2 separate regions of the Homo sapiens genome follow, and region 1 is linked to region 2. Evidence: promoter capture Hi-C in human tissues and cell types (Jung and others, 2019). All regions are on one chromosome and are shown on one strand. The core of a region is centred on a gene start or on the middle of the fragment in contact, and the rest is flanking DNA. Distances in the headings are between cores, read along the strand shown.

Evidence for each region. Contacts are between HindIII fragments. The study calls those that stand out against the background at their distance.
Region 1: a fragment that was not itself captured here is called in contact with the fragment with the promoter of EIF5A2 in region 2 in 2 of the 25 tissues and cell types used here (hippocampus and stomach).

The regions. Positions count from the first base shown.
Region 1 is chr3:170,960,430-170,965,466 of GRCh38, reverse strand. No RefSeq gene overlaps it. Among named protein-coding and RNA genes, the nearest start is that of EIF5A2, 54 kb to the right of the region's middle. The HindIII fragment of the contact is 3,416 bases long and covers 1,957-5,037 here.
Region 2 is chr3:170,906,128-170,911,249 of GRCh38, reverse strand. EIF5A2 (eukaryotic translation initiation factor 5A2) reads left to right here and starts at 2,613. Exons shown (of 5, transcript NM_020390.6): 1 at 2,613-2,707; 2 at 3,409-3,608; 3 at 4,157-4,261. The coding sequence starts at 3,444. RefSeq lists a silencer at 2,953-3,092. The HindIII fragment of the contact is 14,095 bases long and covers 1-5,122 here.

The DNA of each region.
Region 1 (5,037 bases), core at 2,415-4,914, 53 kb before region 2:
GATACCACTGTGGTAAAGGCAGCCCATGAGACCTTAAGAGAGCAACCAGCCTGCCTCCCTTCCACTATCTTCTCTCTCCACAGGCAACAGCTGATGGACAGGCTTTCTTGGGTGTCTGATGCTTCTTTCAATCTGATCTTCTAATGTGCTTCCTCCATACTGCTTCTCTTACCCTTGTCCAGTTAGTTCCCCAGAGCCTATAAGCCTGCCATATTGGGGCTGGGGCAAAGTAACCTGCACCCTCCACACATGCCCACCACTTAGCTCACCTGGGAGCCTTTTAACAAAGCTTACAGGCCATTTGAATTTGTATATTCAATGGTGATGTTCAGGGGATAAATTCTAGCCTTGTCATTTACACTAAGGAGAGAGTAACTGGCAGTTCCTGCTTGTGTGGTTGACTGTCTGCTGTTTGCAAAATATCTATAGCTCCTACTGCCCAAATTATTGATTACTGCTTACCGCAGACAGCAGTGGCATGGCTTGGACAGTGCCAGGCCACTGAGGGTTGCTGCATACCAAGTGGCCTCTCTACCACTCTCATTTCCTAATTGTCAATGCCAACTACAGCCAAAGTACCACTTAGCTGAAGGCACCAGCATCTTTTATTTTGGCCTAGCTGCTTCAGCCAGTGCTTGGCCTAGTGCTTCAGCACTAATCTGTCATTCATTTAAGAGTGGTTCACAACCCTGTCTGTACATTAAAATCACCTGTGAAGTTAAAAAAAAAATTACCCAGGACTGCTCCATCCCCCAGGTATTCTGGTTTATTTGTTCTGGGATGAGACTAGACATAGTCTTATTTTCAAAGCTCTTCAGGTGAACCTAATGTACAGGCTGGATCCAGAACCCCCAATTTAAGAACTCTGAAAGGGTATACACCAAAATATTCATACTGGGTCTATCTGGGTGGTAGAATTACATAATAAATTCTACTTTTTTGTTGTTCTTGTTTTATCTTTAAAAGCATGCAAGTGTTTAAGTTGTGTATGAGAAAGGCTTTTTTTTTCCAAAAAAGTAACCCTCAAATTAACATAAAATTAAATTTCTATTTTAATTAATAGTCCCAATTTGAAATAAAGTTGGGGTGAACTATGTAAGTAATAATATTTCTTTTAAAAATAAATGGGATTAATGCAAACAACATATACTCCAAATGCGGGAGACTTTAACATTCTATCATGATTTCAAGAATTAGAGTCCTCCCTACCCATAAATAGCTCTATCAGGGTCAGAAACCCTTTTCCCTACCCTTTTCACTTATCCATATCAGGGACAATGACTCATCCTCATATACATATCTGGGCCCCCTTGGGATTCATCTCAGCATAGACAGGAAAGATATAAAAGACCCCATTCTGAAAAAGATTGAGCTTAAAATCTATTACATAAGATGCATATGCTAGTGGCTTGATTTGACTTATATAGATCTGGGACATATATGCCTGCCAACTATAGGTATTGGAGTTCTCTAAAGTCCCCTACCAGGGGAAAACACTCCTTGGTGAGATGTGTACACTGAGTATTTAGGGAGATTTTATGTAAATTGGTAAAATTTTAGTTTCTTTAACTACAAAATGTCTCTCACCTGCTTTCCTTCTCACTGGGCAACTTCCTCTTTATTAAAATTGACATCATCACTTATTATCCCATACAAATGTGCTTGTTCAGCTCCCACAATAAAATGTCTGGCCCAAAATGCCAATAGAGCTAAAGCTGAGAAACCCTAGCTTATGTATATATATGACCTCATTTATATTTTCTGAGGGCTACTTTGCTCACTTGTAACATGGGAATAAAAATACCTTCAAGGTATTTTCTGACCCTTGAAAACATAAATGATTTACTCAAGAGTACCTATCTAATAAACAATAATACTAAATATTGGACCCAGATTTCTAAATGCAGTTACCTTTCTATTTCATTACAATCTTGGTATCTACTAGATTCTTACAGCTCTCCTACTTGTATTCCCGCCTCCCTCCTTTCCTGAGCATGGTAACCCCACTCTTCAACCCTCATTTTTTTCTACCTGGCTTTCTTACCTTTTCTGACCTCCGATACTGTCTTCTCTTGGGTTATCATTTGGCCTTCTTATCCTCTGGTTCTATGTTAGGCCCAAGTAACAATGTTAGAGCCTGAAATTCCTTCCTTCATTAATGAATGTACACAATGGAATAACATTAGGAATATAATTTCTCTCCTAAATATTTTTATTGTTTGCTTAATATAGGTGCTCAGAGTTAAAACTTAGGGGGAAAAAAGATAGCAAGAGAGAAAATTTAAATCGGTCAATCTCCAAATCTAGAAATATATCTCTGCCATCAATTTTAGTATTTTCTCTATGCAAATCTTTTCTTCTATTAAAAAGCATTATGTCAACAATATGGTGTATTTTTTTTCCTATAATAACACTGGGGGCCTCTTTCTATGCCACTAAATATTGTTCTCGAGCACCATTTTTAATAGCTCCATAGTAATTCATTGTATGGATATATTAGAATGTCTTTAACCAACTTTGTATTGTTGGTTAGGCTGCTTCTAATTTTTAGCTTTTACAAACATATTTTGTAACATATACGAAATATTCTTAAAGCAAATCTTTGATCATTCTTTTCATGTTTTTACCTAGAAGAATATATAGATCAAATGACATTCAAGAATTTAAGGGTTTTGACAGACTCAAATTGAAAGGAAATTTTACTTCAAATTGATAACTTTTTTTTTTGGTAGGTGGGGCTGCTAAGCCATGAACATCCTTTATCCAGGTTGGTTTCTCACTATGGTGGCCTCTCATTGCTTATCTGTGAAATGAACAACCAGAGTAAGGCTGGCAGTTGGTGGTAATTAGTCAGTACTTTTACCACTACTATAAACTACTTCTGAATAATCTTGAAATTCAATTCCACTGACCTTTAGTAAATTCCACATCATATTAAACACAATCCAAAGACTATAAACATAAACTGCCTACCTTGGAGGTGTTTATAATTTAGTGTACACACATTATTATGTAATACAAAATGTTATCAGTTTGGTAAGAAAATTTAAAAGTGCTGTAGAAAGAGGAATATTTCTGAGTAAGGTGTTTGGGGAAATTGTCATGAGGGAAATGATATTTAATTCAGGCTTCAATGATGGGCAAGGTCAGATTTTGAACTGGCAATAGGCAGAAGGGCATTGGGAGTATGGAGACACACAAAGCAGAATAGTCAGTGGCAAGAAAGTGTATGACATTTATTTGAAAAAAAAAGGACAGCAGTCAATGTTTCTCCTGAGTAGGGTTAATGCAAGGCAACAATAATAGATACACTGGGAAAAGAAGATTGGTATCAAACTGTAAATTCTTTGCTGAGGAGTGGAAACTATTTGGAGGGGAATAGGGAGCTGATGAAGGGGACAGAAATGCTGCACGAAGGTTACTCTGTGAGCAGTGTGGATCACAGTGGCATCTGGTGTTGGGAATTATCACAGTAGCTCTTTTGTGAGAAGAAAATAAGGGCCTGGAAATGAGAAAGGTCGAAGAGAAGGAAACTGACAGCCAGAAAACGTATAGCTGAACCTCTTCAAATTGTGTAAAATATAATAATGCAAGCAAGAGTAAAATTGGCAAATTTAAAAAGCTTGATTTATAGTCTATGTTCCTCCCACCCAAATTTTTCCTAAATTAATATGCAACTGTCAGCACAGATTGTTTGCTGTTAATTTAACTACATTTGAAAAGCTTTAGCACCACCTGGTGATGAAAACTCAGATCGACTCCAACAACCCTAAATTCCATCTTTTTTTCTGCCAAGTTTTTATTTTGAAAACATTTCAAACATACATAAAATTTTAAAGAATACTGTAATAACACCCTTACACCTTCATCATATTTACCAATTGTTATGTTTTGCCACATTTGCTTTAGTTCTTCCTCTATGTGTTGAACCATCTGAAAGTAAACTACAGACACTAAAACAATTCAAAAACTGTCAGCATAAACTTCCTGAAAGGATACCCTCTGCATAATGACAATACCATCTCCTTACCTGAAAAATTAATAATTTTACACCATCATCTAATATGCAATCTATATTCAAATCTTCCAAGTTTTCATCAAAAAAAATGTTTTTAAGTTTGCATTTTTAAGGCCAGAATGTAATCAAGACTTACGCTTTGCATTTGGTTGACATGTTTCAGGGGTCTCTTTTAATCTAGAGCAATTCTCACTTTTTATTTTGGCCTTCCATGGAGGCCTTTGCTGACTATCTTATCCAAGATCCACCCTACCCCCATTGGGGTAGGGTGCTTTTCTGTCTTTGCTTTTCTGCCCCCATTTTACTTAACATTTATTGACACTTAGCATTTAGCGGCTTTCCCTCTTCCTTTTTTTTTTTTCTTGCCTGTCTCTTCCCACTGAAGTATCAGCTCCATGAGAAGAAGGATTTTGTTTGTTTTGTTCACTGCCCACTGCTCCATCCTCAGTATCCAGAACAGTGCCTGGTATACAAAAAGTGCTCAATAAATACTATCTGTTGAAGGAAAGCATTGACCTCTGGGAGTTTGATTATTAAATGTCTTGAGGTAATATTATTTGGGTTAAATCTGCTTGTTATTCTATAACCTTCTTGTACTTGAATATTGATATCTTTCTCTAGGTCTGGAAAGTTCTGTTATTATCTCTTCAAATAAACTTTGTATCCTGGACTCTCACTCTAATTCTTTTTTAAGGCCAATTACTCTTAGATCTGCCCTTTAGGGGCTATTTTCTAGATCTTGTGGGCATTTTTCCTTTTTTTTTTTTTTGAGATGGCATCTTACTCTGTCGCCTAGGCTGGAGTGCAATGCGGCGATTTCGGCCTACTACAACCTCCACCCCCCCGGTTTCAAGCAATTCTCCTGCCTCAGCCTCCAAAGTAGCTGGGATTATAGGTGCCTGCCACTGCACCTGGCTAATTTTTGTATTTTTAGTAGGGACGGGGTTTCACCATCTTGGCCAGGCTGGTCTTGAACTCCTGACCTCGTGATCCACCCACCTCAGCCTCCCAAAGTCCTG
Region 2 (5,122 bases), core at 1,364-3,863:
ACATAATTTACTTATAATCTTAAAATCAATACTTGCAGTGCTTTTGAAGTCATTTGTGAACATGCACAGAGACTCGTGCCATCTAACGCACATTTAGCTGAGGTCAAACTCAGCCATGCTCTGCCTTCTTGTTTCAGTCGTCAAACTGTTAACCAGTATTCTTTTCAGTCTATTTATTGCCAGTTTTTGCATTGTTGTGCTTTTTGTTGGTGATTTCACCATTCAAAATGGCCCCCAAGCACTGTGCTGAAGAGCTGTCTAATGTTCCAAAACACAAGAAAGCTACAGTGTGCCTTACAGAGAGCATATGTTAGATAAGCTACCTTCAGGTATGAATTACATTGCTGTTGGCCATGAGTTTAATGTTAATGAACCAACAATATATAGGAAATCAGGTGTCTTTAAATGGAAACACACTAAAAATCACATATTAACCAATGTTGTGGCCCAGAGGCTCAGAGGAACCTAACCCTGTATTTCCCCTAGGAGCAATGGTTTAGTATTTGCCAATTCAGTGTTCTTACTGACTTCAGGAGAACTGACTGTATTTATTGAATGAGTAATGCTCAGTCATTTGATTCCAAACCCAAATCTTTTGTGAATGCAGTATATGGTGGTAGGTAGAGCAGTGACTCTGGAACCAAACTGCCTAGGTTCCAACCTTGGTTTTCCAACTTACTAGCTTTGTAATCTGGGGCAAATTGCTTTTCTCCTTTTTCCGTAACTAAAAATGCAGGTTAAAAAAGTACTGTTAATATTTGCCAGGGGCTGGGTGTAGAGGGAGGAAACTGAGAACAAAAAGCCACTAGAAAACTTTTGGAATGAGGGAAATATTCCATATCTTGATCATAGCAGATGATCAAGATATGTTTTTCAAAACTCATAAAAAGAAAAGGGACAAATTTTTCTTTATATGAATAACTTAACAAGGTTAAAAATAGAAAGCAGCAGTGACAAACAAAGGAATAATGCACATCAAAAATTTAGTACACTACCTGCCTATATAAATACTAAATACTATTAGCGATCATTGTAAAAACAATAGGGAAAAGTTAGGAGGTATAAGGAAAAGCAGAAAGAGCTAATGAACCAAGATTCTAATCTGGCTCTTTCTTTTTGGGGTGTTGGGGGTGGGGGGGGTGGTCTCACTCTGTCAGCCAGGTTGGAGTACAGTGGCCGGATCTCGGCTCACTGCAGTCTCCACCTCCCAGGCTCAAGTGATCCTCCCACCTCAACCTCCCTAGTAGCTGGGACCACAGGTGCACAGCACCATGCCCAGCTAAGTTTTCGTATTTTTGGTAGAGACGGGGTTTCACGATGCTGCCCAGGCTGATCTCGAACTCCTGAGCTCAGGGAACCCACCTGCCTCAGCCTCCCAACGTGCTGGGATTACAGGCATGAGCCACTGCTGTAATGGCTCCTTTGTATATTAGCTAGAGGCTGAATTCAGTACATGAGAGGGCAGTAACTTATTGCGAAAGTTAAATTGGACCTGTTTGAAAGATATGTGTAAACTGTAGAGTCATACAGGAATGTGAGATATGGGATTATTCATGAGACAGCAATAGGAAATCAAAGTTACCACATAAATGCGGGTGTGGGATGGGAAATAATTTCCTAGATCACCTCCCCAAGATAGGATACTGCGGTAGGTTGCGAAATGAAACTGTGAAGGGGGAGCACATCTCTTTTAAGAACCTTTCTATGGCAGTCTACAAGCTCTAGGTCAATTTTGAAGACCATCCAAGCGTTCTAATGTGCCAGGGTTAAACCCCAAACTCTAAGGAATGCCAATGCCAGGAGGAAAGAATGGATGAGTCGGCAGAACACCTCTCTGGACCCACAATGCCGTAGGAGTCAGACACCCTTCGCCTCCACAACTTCCCAACAGCCTTTGGTGTGAGAAGTGGGTTAATTCATTTCACTGCTGGCTTGTTAGCTGGCGGACGCTTCGGGAGTTCCCACCCCAGGGAGCAGTGCTGACTCTACAGGGGCATCCGGCGGCAGTCGCTGCCAAAAATCTCACCAAGGGGTGAATGGGGGGTCCTCAGGACCTGCGGTGCCGAGCTGGGTAATAAAATACTGCACCTGAATTCTTCTTTAAGGACCAGGAGGAGGTTCGAACCCCAAGAAAGGCTGCAAGCTGAACCAGAAGCTCGAACCCAAAGTTCGCTTCACAGCCAGCCACACTGGCACTCGCTGAATCTGCGCGCCTCGCGAGTTCTGACGATCGTCATGTGATAACTGCCACGCACCTGATGGCAGGGGCCATTGGGTGCTTTGCTTGGTTCCCATTAAAGTCGACTGCGACCCGAACGCAACAAACCTAAGAGTTGGAAGGCGCAAGTTCCTCTGCCAGCGAGCTCACCCTCGGCAACCAGACTGCTGAAAGTGCGCTCCACGCCGGAAGTGCACTAATCCGCAGCACGTGGGGTTGCCAGGGCGCTCTTCACGTGACTGGGCGGAGCCTCGGGAATCTGGTAGCCAATGGTAGCCCGAGAGGGCGGTGCCTGTGACGCTCCGGGGCCTATCCCGGAAATAGGGCTGAGTGGGGGCGGGTAAGGGCGGGGAGGCTGGGGTGTGGAAAGTGTGGCGGCCCCGCCCCGTCTCTTGGAACTGCCGCGGCCGCCACCGCCGCTGCCGGCGCCGCTGCTGTAGGGGACCAGCGCGGGTGCGCAGACGAAAGGCGCTCTTTGCCAGCTGAAAGGTGAAGACCTGGGGAAAAGCTGGTGGGGAAAAGCTGGTGGGGATGGGGCCAGAGTGAGGCAGGGCCGGGGAAGGCGCCCAGAACTGAGCGCTGACCGAGAGAAAGAAGGAGAATGGATGGGGGAACAGAGGCGAGCGCGGGACCCGCCGGGGCTCAGGCCCTAGTGGGGCCGGGCCGGGCCGAGCTGAGCCCTGGATGCCGGCAGAACAGGGGGCGCCTGTGCGGCCGCGGCGGCGACGTTGAAGGGTGGAGGGCGGGGTGCGCGCCAGCTAGCAGAGGGCCGGGTGCTGCTGGCCAGGTTCTGTTACCCCGCATCCTTCGCGGGGACCTGCGGCCTGGGCTGGGTCCCCCGCAGTAGGGTTCGGGGCGGCGGCCGAGGGCTGGGCGGCGGGGGAAGGTCGCCGGCTTCTGCGGTGGGGCGATGGGGGCCGCAACCTGCTGTTTCCAGCACGGAGGAGCGCCCAGGGCGGGTGTCCCCACCCTCAGCGAGCTCCTCTGCGACTTCTCATCCCACCTCCCCAAGCAGTAGCTGGAAAAGTTTGTAGAGGCCAGAGTTAGAAAGTGGCCACTAGTCTAGGGTGGGTGTTCCTTACATGCAGAAATAACGGGCCCATGATGCTTGGCACATAACTTGTCCGAAATGAGACGTTTCCCTGCCTACATACCCGTTGTTAAAAAGCAAACACAAACTTTTTGTGTAGTTCCCACGGAAAAACTACCATCTCCCCTGCCCACCATGGCAGACGAAATTGATTTCACTACTGGAGATGCCGGGGCTTCCAGCACTTACCCTATGCAGTGCTCGGCCTTGCGCAAAAACGGCTTCGTGGTGCTCAAAGGACGACCATGCAAAATAGTGGAGATGTCAACTTCCAAAACTGGAAAGCATGGTCATGCCAAGGTAAGTACCCTTGCAGATCAGGCTTTGGCTTCGGCGTTGGGACTTTGATCATTTGTATTCCGTTACAGATCATGAGATTTCTATACTTAAAATTTTGTAATAAGCACTATTTTTTCCTTCCCACAATTACTGGGTAATCAGTTATTACGTTGAATACTTAAAGGTAGCATTCCCTTCTTGGGCCCTTACAATGTTCATTAACTGGGAACTGAAACTTTCCTGAATCCTAGTGACCTATAAGATCTATTTAGTTTACAGATGAGAAAACCTGTTCTAGCAATTCTAAGAAATCTACACTTTATTTTTCTTGTGTAATCTCATAATTGAATCACTGGTCTATATTGGGTCTTGACATGTCGTGATACTGTTTAGTTGTTTACTGCCTCTTAATTGTAAGACCACTACATTTTTTTTTAAGTAAAATTAGATGACCTTGGAAGGAGGAGAAAAAGAATCTGTTGTAATCAGCATTGGTATTGTGCTCTTGTGTGTGTAATGAGTGATATACTTGGCAGAGATTAAACAGGTTTCCTGTTCTCCTCTGTTAGGTTCACCTTGTTGGAATTGATATTTTCACGGGCAAAAAATATGAAGATATTTGTCCTTCTACTCACAACATGGATGTTCCAAATATTAAGAGAAATGATTATCAAGTAAGCACTGATTTTCTTTAGAATGTTGCTTGTTTCTTCAAGGTGCAAATACTTTGTACTATCAGTAATAATTTGACAAAACCCAAGAGTAGTTTTGTAGGTTTTTCTAACCAATTATTAGGCACCAGCTATCTTAGAAATTGGAGAAATAGTGATGTTTAACACATGTACTTTTCTAGGATTATTGCTAGTTTGCTATTTTTTTCACATTCTTGCATTTTTTAAAAAGTCAAATACTTATTAGTGTTCTCAGGCCAAGTGACTGCATATTGCAATTAAGTCCAATGTTTAGTAAAAGTACTATTCTCTCTGTTGTAAAATATTTCTTGTTCTAATTTAAAACATCCCTCCTGGATGTTTTGTTTCTTTTCACTGATCAGACCTGAGACATTCAAGAAACTACTGAAATTCATGTTCCTACCAAGTTTTTGCATTAATGAATGTTAGTCAGAACTTGACATTCTTAAGTAGAGAAATAAGTTGAAAGCCATAAATATAAAGGATAAAGTACCTGGTCACTGAGTATGGTGAAGAAAACACAAAAACTATATAATTGGTTAAATTATACTTAGTGACCATGCTATGACCTTTTGCTAAATTATGTATGTAAATTTCAAGTTTTAGTTCCAGTTATACATTTGGGTAGGTCATATTTAATGATAGCATTTTGTTGTTTGAAGTATTGATGATAACAAAATAATTGACCTTATAGGATGTGGAAGCTCAGATTACTTATAACTAAAGCTTTTCTTGAAAGTCTTCAATTTCTGTATCAAGCATACCATATATCAAACTCATTTCTGCTCATTTTACATAGTGAAAAATACAAAGTTGACACTGGTATTTGTTTTATCCGACTTA